Linked DNA regions of Homo sapiens: all the other regions are linked to region 2. Evidence: promoter capture Hi-C in human tissues and cell types (Jung and others, 2019). All regions are on one chromosome and are shown on one strand. Each heading gives the region's core, a stretch centred on a gene start or on the middle of the fragment in contact. The rest is flanking DNA. Distances are from core to core; before and after follow the strand shown. Region 1 overlaps DRC11 (dynein regulatory complex subunit 11). Region 2 holds the start of ACKR3 (atypical chemokine receptor 3). Region 3 has its middle 94 kb from the start of ACKR3.

What was found. The method cuts DNA at HindIII sites, captures the fragments that hold promoters and counts their contacts. A contact is called where the count stands out against the background at its distance.
Region 1: a fragment that was not itself captured here is called in contact with the fragment with the promoter of ACKR3 in region 2 in 2 of the 25 tissues and cell types used here (dorsolateral prefrontal cortex and mesenchymal stem cells).
Region 3: a fragment that was not itself captured here is called in contact with the fragment with the promoter of ACKR3 in region 2 in 2 of the 25 tissues and cell types used here (pancreas and spleen).

The regions. Positions count from the first base shown.
Region 1 is chr2:236,464,124-236,467,314 of GRCh38, reverse strand. DRC11 (dynein regulatory complex subunit 11) reads left to right here. Exons shown (of 19, transcript NM_024726.5): 6 at 1,605-1,810. Among named protein-coding and RNA genes, the nearest start is that of DRC11, 42 kb to the left of the region's middle. The HindIII fragment of the contact is 5,182 bases long and covers 1-3,191 here.
Region 2 is chr2:236,568,461-236,571,300 of GRCh38, reverse strand. It overlaps ACKR3 (atypical chemokine receptor 3), which reads right to left and starts at 1,476. Exons shown (of 2, transcript NM_020311.3): 1 at 1,377-1,476. RefSeq lists an enhancer at 2,240-2,840. The HindIII fragment of the contact is 7,550 bases long and covers 1-2,840 here.
Region 3 is chr2:236,662,501-236,665,640 of GRCh38, reverse strand. No RefSeq gene overlaps it. Among named protein-coding and RNA genes, the nearest start is that of ACKR3, 94 kb to the right of the region's middle. The HindIII fragment of the contact is 7,362 bases long and covers 1-3,140 here.

The DNA of each region.
Region 1 (3,191 bases), core at 396-2,895, 100 kb after region 2:
GTCATGAAAGATCAATCTGGTGCTCTGGCATTTATCTAATGTTTATTGCAGACAAGGAAATGGAGAAAAAGAAATAATAGAAAGAAAACTTGAAGAGTTGAAGGCAATTCTTTATATTGTATAGACCTACCAAAGGAGAATACAATGAATGAAGAAATGCCTACACCTACATACATTTTGATGGACTTTCAAAACTCTTGAGAGTAAAGCATTATAAACACTTTCAGGGAGGAAACAGCTTATTTGCAAAGGAACAACAATTAAATTTGCAAAAAAGGAACTGGAAACTCTACATATTAGAAGTAGAATTCCTCAAGGGAACTACCAAAATGCCATTCAAGTGGGAGGGGCCAAATGAAGACATCTTTAGAAATGCTAGTCCTTATAATATTTATGGCTGTACATATTCATTCTGAAAGTTACACTCAAGGACATACTTCAGCAAAATGAAAACTGAATACAAAAAAGAAGAAAAGGGTTATATGGTTTGGATGTTTGTCCCCTCCAAATCTCATGCTGAAATGTGATTCCCAGTGTTGGAGGTGGAGCCTAGTGGGAGGTGATGGATCTTGGGGGCAGATCTCTCATGAATGGCTTAGCACCATCCCCTTGGTGATGAGTGAATTCTCTCAGTTCACACAAGATCTGGTTGTTTATACAAGTCTGGGACCTCCCCTTCTTTATCTCTTGCTCCCTTTCACCACGTGAGACACTGGCTCCCTGTCACCTTCCATCATGATTGTAAGCTTCCTGAGGCCTCGCCAGAAGCCAAGCAGATGCTGGCACCATGCTTCTCATACAGCCTGCAGAACTGTGAGCCAAAATAAACTTCTTTTCCTTATAAATTACCCACCCTCCAGTATTCTTTTACGGCAGTGCAAAAATGGACTAATGCAAAGGGTAAACAGAGAAACCAGAACATCTCATAATTAAATGTAAACATATCTTGCTTTTCAAAATTAATTGCAGTCTATGATATTATAAAACGAGAGGTTGTGGGAAGAAAAGTGAACACATGCGTAGGTCCTATACTTGTTCAAAGAAGCTCTAGATTATGATAAATTCTAGACAGATAGAAATGTAGATGTTAAGTAACATGTTAAAATTTTAAGATAACCAGTAGAAGATTAAAATAAGATGTATAATTTTTAAACCACTGCATGACAAGAATGAACAAAACTACATAAATCCAACAGAAGGTAGGAAAGGAAGAAAAAAAAAACAAGAAAGTGTGTTAGATAAAAAACTTGAGAAGATTATCTCCAAATGTTTCTTCTGTACAATGAATAAAATTTTTCTTTTCTATAATTCTCAGATTGAGTTTTTTTAATCCAGATCTATGTTGTTGACAGGAGAGAAACCTCAAACATACTGAAGCTGAAAACTTCAAAACAAAAGAACATAAAGCATTATGTCAGGGACTTTGGATTAAATACACTGAGTAAATGCACTCAGTTAGCTTTGCTTCCTCTGGATGCTTGTATTTCTTATTTGCCTTTGCTAGACACTATGGAAGATATTAACACATTTGTTCAGTTTCTGATATTTTTACCAACTCTGTAACTTTTATGACCTCAAACCTTGTTGCTTGTATATATTTTCAGAATCCACCTCCTCTCTTTAATGAAGTCAGTGCTACAGTAATCCAGGCTGAAAAGGTGGACCGCCTGCGGAATGAGGTGCAGATAAAGCATGAAGAGGACTACAGGGAAGCCCTGGTTACCATCAAGAATGACCTAAAGTTGATAGAAGGCGTGGATATCAAGGAGAACCTTCAAGACCAGATCCGGCATTGGTTCATCGAATGCAGGTGAACATGAGCTACATCGTGACATATCCAGTCTGTTCTTTAGTGGCTGAGGTTATTGTATGTTTTTAAGCACAGAAGCATATTGATATAGAGTCATGAGGTTTCTCGGCTTCGTTTTAGAAACGTGAAATGCCAAGGCTAAGAATTCAGAAATTAATTTTTTTAAATATGGAAAAACGGCCCACATAGTGCCTATGTGACCACATGGCTTGGAATATAATGGGTGCATGACATAGCCCAAGGATGGCAGGACTTCACAGGCCAGGTCTGTCCAAAAGTCAGGGGACCCAGAAATAACCTTCCCTTCTGGCATCTAGCCAGCCTCTCTACTTGTAAGAAGCTTGAGATTCTCAATCATGGTCCCTCTCGGTCATAATCCTTTGAGGCAGCTGCTGATTCCTGGGACTAGACACCTGGCCACCAGGTCTCCTTGAATGATGGTGTGTTAGGTGGTTCTTGCATTGCTATAAAGAAATATCTGAGGCTGGATAATTTCTAAGGAAAAGAAACTTAATTGGCTCAAGGCTCTACAAGCTTTACAGGAAGCATGATGCTGGTATCTGCTCCTGTTTGCCTCAGGGAGCTTTAACTCAACTCACGGCAGAAGGTGATGCAGGAGAAGGCACGTCAAATGGCAAGAGCAAGAGCCAAAGAGAGAGTGCGGGGTTGGCGGCAGGGGGTGGTGCCACATACTTTTAAACAACCAGATCTTGCAAGAACTCACTCACTATAGCAAGGACAGCACCAGGCCATGAGGGATCCACCCCCATGACCCAGACACCTCCCACCAGGCTCCACCTCCAACACTGGGGATCACATTTCAACATGAGATTTGGAGGGGGCATCCAAACTTTATCAGATGGGTAGATAGGTAGTTTTGGAGACAAGGCTCCAGGCGTATTCATATTTAAGGGTGTTCTTTAATGTTCTTAAATGAAATGTTAAATGAGTTAAAACTTGTTTACAAAAGATGGTTTGTAAAAGGTATTCATCAGAGAATTTTTCTACACAGCAGAACACTTTGATGGTAACCTAATTAGAAGAGATTTTAAATCAATTTTATTTCAAGAAGGGAAGAAAAGAGGGCAGATTGTTATGATCAGTCCCAGGAGCCATAGAAGGCAAGCTTGCCCATCTGTTTTCTTGATGGGGTATTGCATCATATCACTTCAGGTCTCAAGATGCTCTGACGCCAACTGTGGTTAGGACCAGAGAATTTAAATGTTGGCAATAGAAAAATCAAACTTTCTCTCAAAAAGATTCTATTAAAAGATATCTGTGGCAGGCAGCCTCTAAGCTGGCCTCCAGTGATCCCTCCCCTGAAGTGTGAGCTATACCTAGTAACACTTCCAAAGACAAGGATACGGCTAGAGTGATGGGA
Region 2 (2,840 bases), core at 227-2,726:
TTGTGTGCACATTCAAGTGTTTATGGCAGAGACTGGGGAAAAAAGAGCAAATTGTTTCCAAGCTAGAGCTCCCATGTGCAACTTTGCTTTAGAAAAGACTTTCCATCTGGGGAAAGCTCATATTCTGATGAAAGAAGGGCAAGCAGTTTATCCATTTAAAATCTATGGAAAGTTAAAGCACAGAAACCAGCAGCCTCCACTTTCTTTGCTAGGCGTGCCTAGCTGATGTCCACATTTTTCCTGGAATAAATAAAGGGACACTAAAAGCAGCATCTGCCTTTAAAAAAGAAAAGAACAAAGTTACCATGTTGAGACTTTGCAGACTGAAGTTTCAGGGGATGTCACTGCACCAAATACATTCAAAGGGCTGTAAACCATTTAAGGAGGCTCTCTCCCACTTTTGAAACACTAAGTAATCCTGTTGTGAGCAAAAGGAAAGAAAGAAAGAAAGAAAGAGGAAGAGAGAAAGAGAGACAGCCAGTCTGACTTTTACAACTTCTCATTCTCCCTGGAAGTTACAAGTCTTGGCTAACCACCCATCCCTGACCTCACTCCAAAGTTCTCTCAGTCACTCCTTGAATCTTTGCACATGCCAACAAAATTGAACAAAATCCACATTTTACCTGAAGAGTATATTTAAATTGCAAAATAGTAGATTTGTGTGTGTGCTTCCCCCAACCCCAATTGAAGTTGGACTTAACACCTTCTAAGAGAACAATACTCAAATTAGATTAGCAAGCGTGCCATCAAGAGAAGAGAAGACCGGGCTGTGTTTAACATTCACGTTTATAGCTTCCGGACTTACAGACTCTGGTAAATCCCCCAAAGTACTGAATTCAAATACATCTTGGACTCACAAAGATTCTCAGCAGTTTTCTGCTCCATTTAAGGATGCCTCTTAATAAAGTGTTCATCATTCTGGAATTACGTATTTACTGCCAATTTTATCTGTTTCCAAACTGATATACTAGAAGCAAAACAGGTAAACAGTGGGTGCCAAGCTAATCCCCATGCCAAATTGGTCAGGCAGAATGGATAGTCTGTGTTCTTGCAAAGTTCCCCTGCTTACTGGAGCTTAAATAGCCACACAGCAAATAAACACCAGATTCCTAAATACACATGGAAATTTCCTTCTGCAAGTGACTTAAGAAAACTGCCCTTTGCTTTCTGAAGAGAAAGGTGAAGCCCTCCGAATTAGCAAAAGCACTTTGCAATGCAGCTGCGTGCAGCCTGGGTTTTCAGAAACCAGACCCGCAGACTCAAAAGCACCCATCTGAGCGATTTTAAAGAAGGCCTTTGAAAAGACCACTTGGCTTAAGAGCAGAAGCCGTGCCTTCTTTCCGAGCAGAGCTGCTGCCCGAGCACCGTTTCCTTACCTCCGGGCTGGCTGGGCTGGCTGGGCTGGCTGGGCTCGCTCGCCTTCCTGGCTGTGCTGTGCGCTGGCTCCCTTAGTGCTGAGCACTTTGCAACAACTGTGAGCTCTGCTGGCTGCAGACTTGCATTATATACACTGCAGAAAGGAGCCTCTAGCCTCTAGATGGCAGCTTTGTAACCCACATCTCTCTCTCCCCCGTGCCACCCCCATCCCACAGGCAGACACACACACACACACACCCCCCTCTTGTAAACCTCACTAGTCTGTTGTTTCCTGCACAAGTGTACTCTTGGGAAACCCCAGCCTTCTTTCATTTGCAAAATCTGGTGAAGCCACAAAGTCCAAACCCCACGGGGGGAAAACGTCAGCCAAAGACAAACTGCAAAGAAACCCTAGTGCTTGGCAAAATCATCAAATATTTATCTGGTCTCAGGTATATCTTGAATAATCCCATTAACACCAAGAGCTCCTGTGAATGCCTCTTCGCTCTAGGGAGGACTTTGTTCCCAAGACAAATTACTCTGAACTTCTGAACTTCGATGTTGATTTACTAAGCCTGGGTTTTCCTTGTTAATTCCTCCAAAACAGAAGTAACAGTTTTGGTATGACCAATGAATCGATGCCACACCGTATATCCCCAAAGTGGAGAAAAGAGTCTTTATAATAGATTATACTTGAATACTTTTATTTGTAAAGGACTTTAAGTACAAAATCCTTGAGACTCTAATCAAGATAGTATTCTACAGTGTCTGCCCAGTGCCAGACACGCATTAGGAAGATAATAAATGCCTTTTGATAATGTCTTTTTCTGAGATGAGTCTGGCAAACACTTTACTACAATTATTGCAATCTACATTCTTATTTGGATGCGTATTGCTAAAGTTCCCCCCACGGAGGAATTCAACCTAAAAATGTGATCCAGGTGATACTCATCTCCAATGCCCCATTTACAAAAATCGTCCATAAGATAGGGACCCAAAGGCCACCCGCCAGCCCATCCCATGTGCAATGCTCTGGCTTTCGTATTGCTTTCTGATCTCCTGGAGTTCTTAAAGAGCGGCTCAAGTGGAGTGTATGAAGGCACCAGCTGTATTCACGCCTTCTCCAGAGCTAAAACTTTTCGAGATTCTTTTTATACTTCTACTAAAAATAACAGCAGACGCTCGGTCCCAGCGCTGAATCTGGGGGACTGGGAGGTCAAAGTCTCACGTGGCTAGAAAGTCTCCGTGTGGAGAAAGCCCTTAACGAAAGAAATATTTTGTTTAGCTAAAAGCTTCACATTTTTCTCCTGAACTGGCTGCCCAGCGGGAGGCGAGGTGCACACCTGCTCTCCGGGGGCCTCCGGAGGGGTCGCCCTGGGGCCGGCCTTTCCCAGCCCGAGCGCAGCGTCCCGCCACCGCCTCTGCAGGGCGGCGCAATCACTCTTCGTGTCACATCGGCACCAAGGACATCTCCAGGCTCCCCA
Region 3 (3,140 bases), core at 625-3,124, 94 kb before region 2:
GAATGCAATGGCGCAATCTCGGTTCACTGCAACCTCCACCTCCCAGGCTCATGAGATTCTCCTGCCTCAGCCTTCCGGGTAGCTGGGATTACAGGTGCACACCACCATGCCCAGCTAATTTTTTGTATTTTTTTTTTTTTAGTAGAGACGGGTTTTCACTATGTTGGCCAGACTGGTCTCGAACTCCTGACCTCGTGATCTGCCCACCTCGGCCTCCCAAAGTGCTGGAATTTCAGGTGTGAGTCACTGCGCCCTGACTCATCTGCCATCTTTTAACCTAAAGGAAGAGGAGAAAGGCAGCTCTTTGGACAGCTGTCTGGGAAGACCAGTCCTGCAGCCCCTTAAGGAGTTCTCCTTCCTGCTGAAATTGGCACTGTCTTTGGTGGCACCTCAGGCTGGCTGTACAAAGAGCGTGGTCCCACTTCAATTTGGCCAATTATTAGCTATGTGACCCCAGACTACCTGCATAACCTCTCTGGTCATCGCATATAATATCAGGAACTGGACCAGTCAGGTTTGCACATTTTATTTTTCTTTTCTTTAGCAGTGGTACCCTTTCTTCAGCAGAAATCTTGAGTAAAATGCAGTATGTGAAACCAGTCAGAAGGAGATGTCGGGGACCAAGAGCCCTGCCTCCTGGTGACCCATCACCTCCCTCCTGCTGTAGAACCCCTGAGCTGCCCTCAGAGGAGGCACAGGTTGAAAGGCTCCCACCTGAGTGGTCCTGGAAGCCCCTTTTGCACTAGGACTCCTTGAGCCTCTGCCTTCCAGACCCATGGGCTGTCCTGTGCTTTTTTTCCTGTTGGTTTTTTTGTTTGGTTGGTTGTTTTGTTTGTATGTTTTGTTTTGTTTCGTTTTGTTTTGTTTTTGTCGCCCAGGCCAGAGTGCAGTGGTGCCATCTCCACTCACTACAACCTCCACCTCCCAGGTTCAAGCGATTCTCCTGCCTCGGCCTCCCAAGTAGCTGGGATTACAGGTGCCCACCATCACGCCCGGCTCATTTTTGTATTTTAGTAGAGATGGGAGTTCACCACGTTGGCCAGGATGGTCTCAAACTCCTGACCTCAGGTGATCTGCCCACCTTGGCCTTCCAAAGTGCTGGGATTACAGGTGTGAGCCACCATGCCCGGCCTTTTCCTGTATTTAAATTGAGATTCCATATGGTTTTGTAGACCATTTAGAAATAATAATAATAATAATAATAACCCAGGGATGTGTGAAATGCTTCTGTATCCTCTTCTCCATTGTCAAGTTTGCCGTGATCTTCACTCGCATGATTGCACCGATCTTCACTCACACGATTGCACCGGGAGGCTGTTGCCTTAGTGCCTTTTCCAATTCAGACCAAGGACAGGCTTCTTCCAAGCCCAGTTGACAGCCCTAGGTCTACTCTGTCCCCTATCAATATCCTGTTTCTGTGTGTGGCCAAACAAAACAAAAAAAATCCCATGATTCACCCAGAAACTGTGCCTAATGATAGACAAATTAAATGTCTATAACTTGTTGTAATTACTTAATAAAGTTTGTCGAGCGCTTAAGAATCCATCTGGATGAAAGAAACATTGTTAATGTAAAACATGATTACAGCAACAACTACAATCATGCCAAAATTCCAGAGTCCCACCCCCTCAGTAAAGAGCATGAGCTGTGCCATTGGTATTCCGCCGCGGGATGCTGCCATGCAAACCAGCATCCCCGCCGGCTCCTGTGACATCTGCCCACCCAGGGTATTTGCTAACAAGAAGGATGGAGTGGGAGGTGTAAAGGAAAGAAGTGCAGTCCTCCAAAGTGAAATTATTCCCTTGTCTCCATTCTGTGAAAGCTCCGAGTCCAAGTGAGCTTGCTAAAATGTCAGCCACGTGCCTCAGTGATTAGGGCTGCGGTTTGGGCAGCCTGTCAAAGATTTTCCCAGGCGACGCTCAAGCCCCTTCTCAGCCCAGCGCAGGAGGTTTGGTGTTTTTACTGCAGGGCAGTCCAGAGTTTCTGGGAGAGCAAGTGATATCCTATAAGCCATCCACACACCTTCATTCCCCACATGCATCCTAAACTTTAAGTTAATGTTCTGCCTTTTCTTTTTCCCATTCAGGGAGATTCACATGTTTGGCCAAGATAGCCTGTCCCACTGACAGGACCGTAAAGCCAATCCAACTGGGAGGAGAGCCAGGGAGGCTGCGTTCGTGGACTTGAAGAGTCTAACAGGCCTGCTCCTGGAATTTCATCCCTCACTCTCCCCACTTCTCCCTCCAGCCCAGCGTGAACTTCACTCGTGCCAAAAAATCAACTGCATAAGAACAGGATTAAGCAGGAGGCTGGAGACGGAATTAAATAAAGTGCATGAATGAAACCTCAAGATTTTCTTAACTGTGAACTCACCAAGAGCCAACACAGCGGAGCTTATGAAATTTCACTAGGTGAGACTGTATGAGTGCTTCCGCACCAAGCCAAATTCAACCTCCCCATAGCTTCCCCCCAACATTTCTAAACCTGCCCTCTGGAATCATACCGATCAAACCTAATGTCTGAATGAATATGTTTATGCCCAGTGAAGCATAGAAGATGACTGCTGGGCATCCAAGTCTTCCCTTTCCCCAAATGAATTTTCGTGGGTCTCCTGTCCCTTGCCGCCCTGACAGTTCGCCACCCACTCATCACGTTGTGGGTCGACCCCAGTTTAGGGCTGCTGCTCCCATGAGTAGTTTCTTGAGCTGCTCTTTCCCTGGAGCTGTCCACTCTGATGCTGGAAGGGCTTCAATTTTGGGGTAGATCAGAGTTTCTCAAACTTAGCTCTATGGATCTTTTCACCCAGAGAATTATTTGTTCTGCGAGGTGGTCCTGTGCACTGTAGGATGTTTAGCAGCCACCCTGGCCTCTACCCACCAGATACCAGTAGCAACCCCCTCCCCGCAGTGACAAAAATGTTTCCAGACATTGCCAAGTGTCCCTTGGGGAACAGAGTCCCTCCTGACTGAGAACCACTGGGGTAGAATGTTTGATTAGGGTCCCCTTCAACTGAAAGGTTCTAACCATTCATGATTCCATGAACTGCCCACATTTTCTCAAATCATCAGCTCAGTTCAGATTGTGAAACCACTAAGAACACAAAACTACTTTTAAAAAAGGAGCTGGTGTTTTGAAAGTTC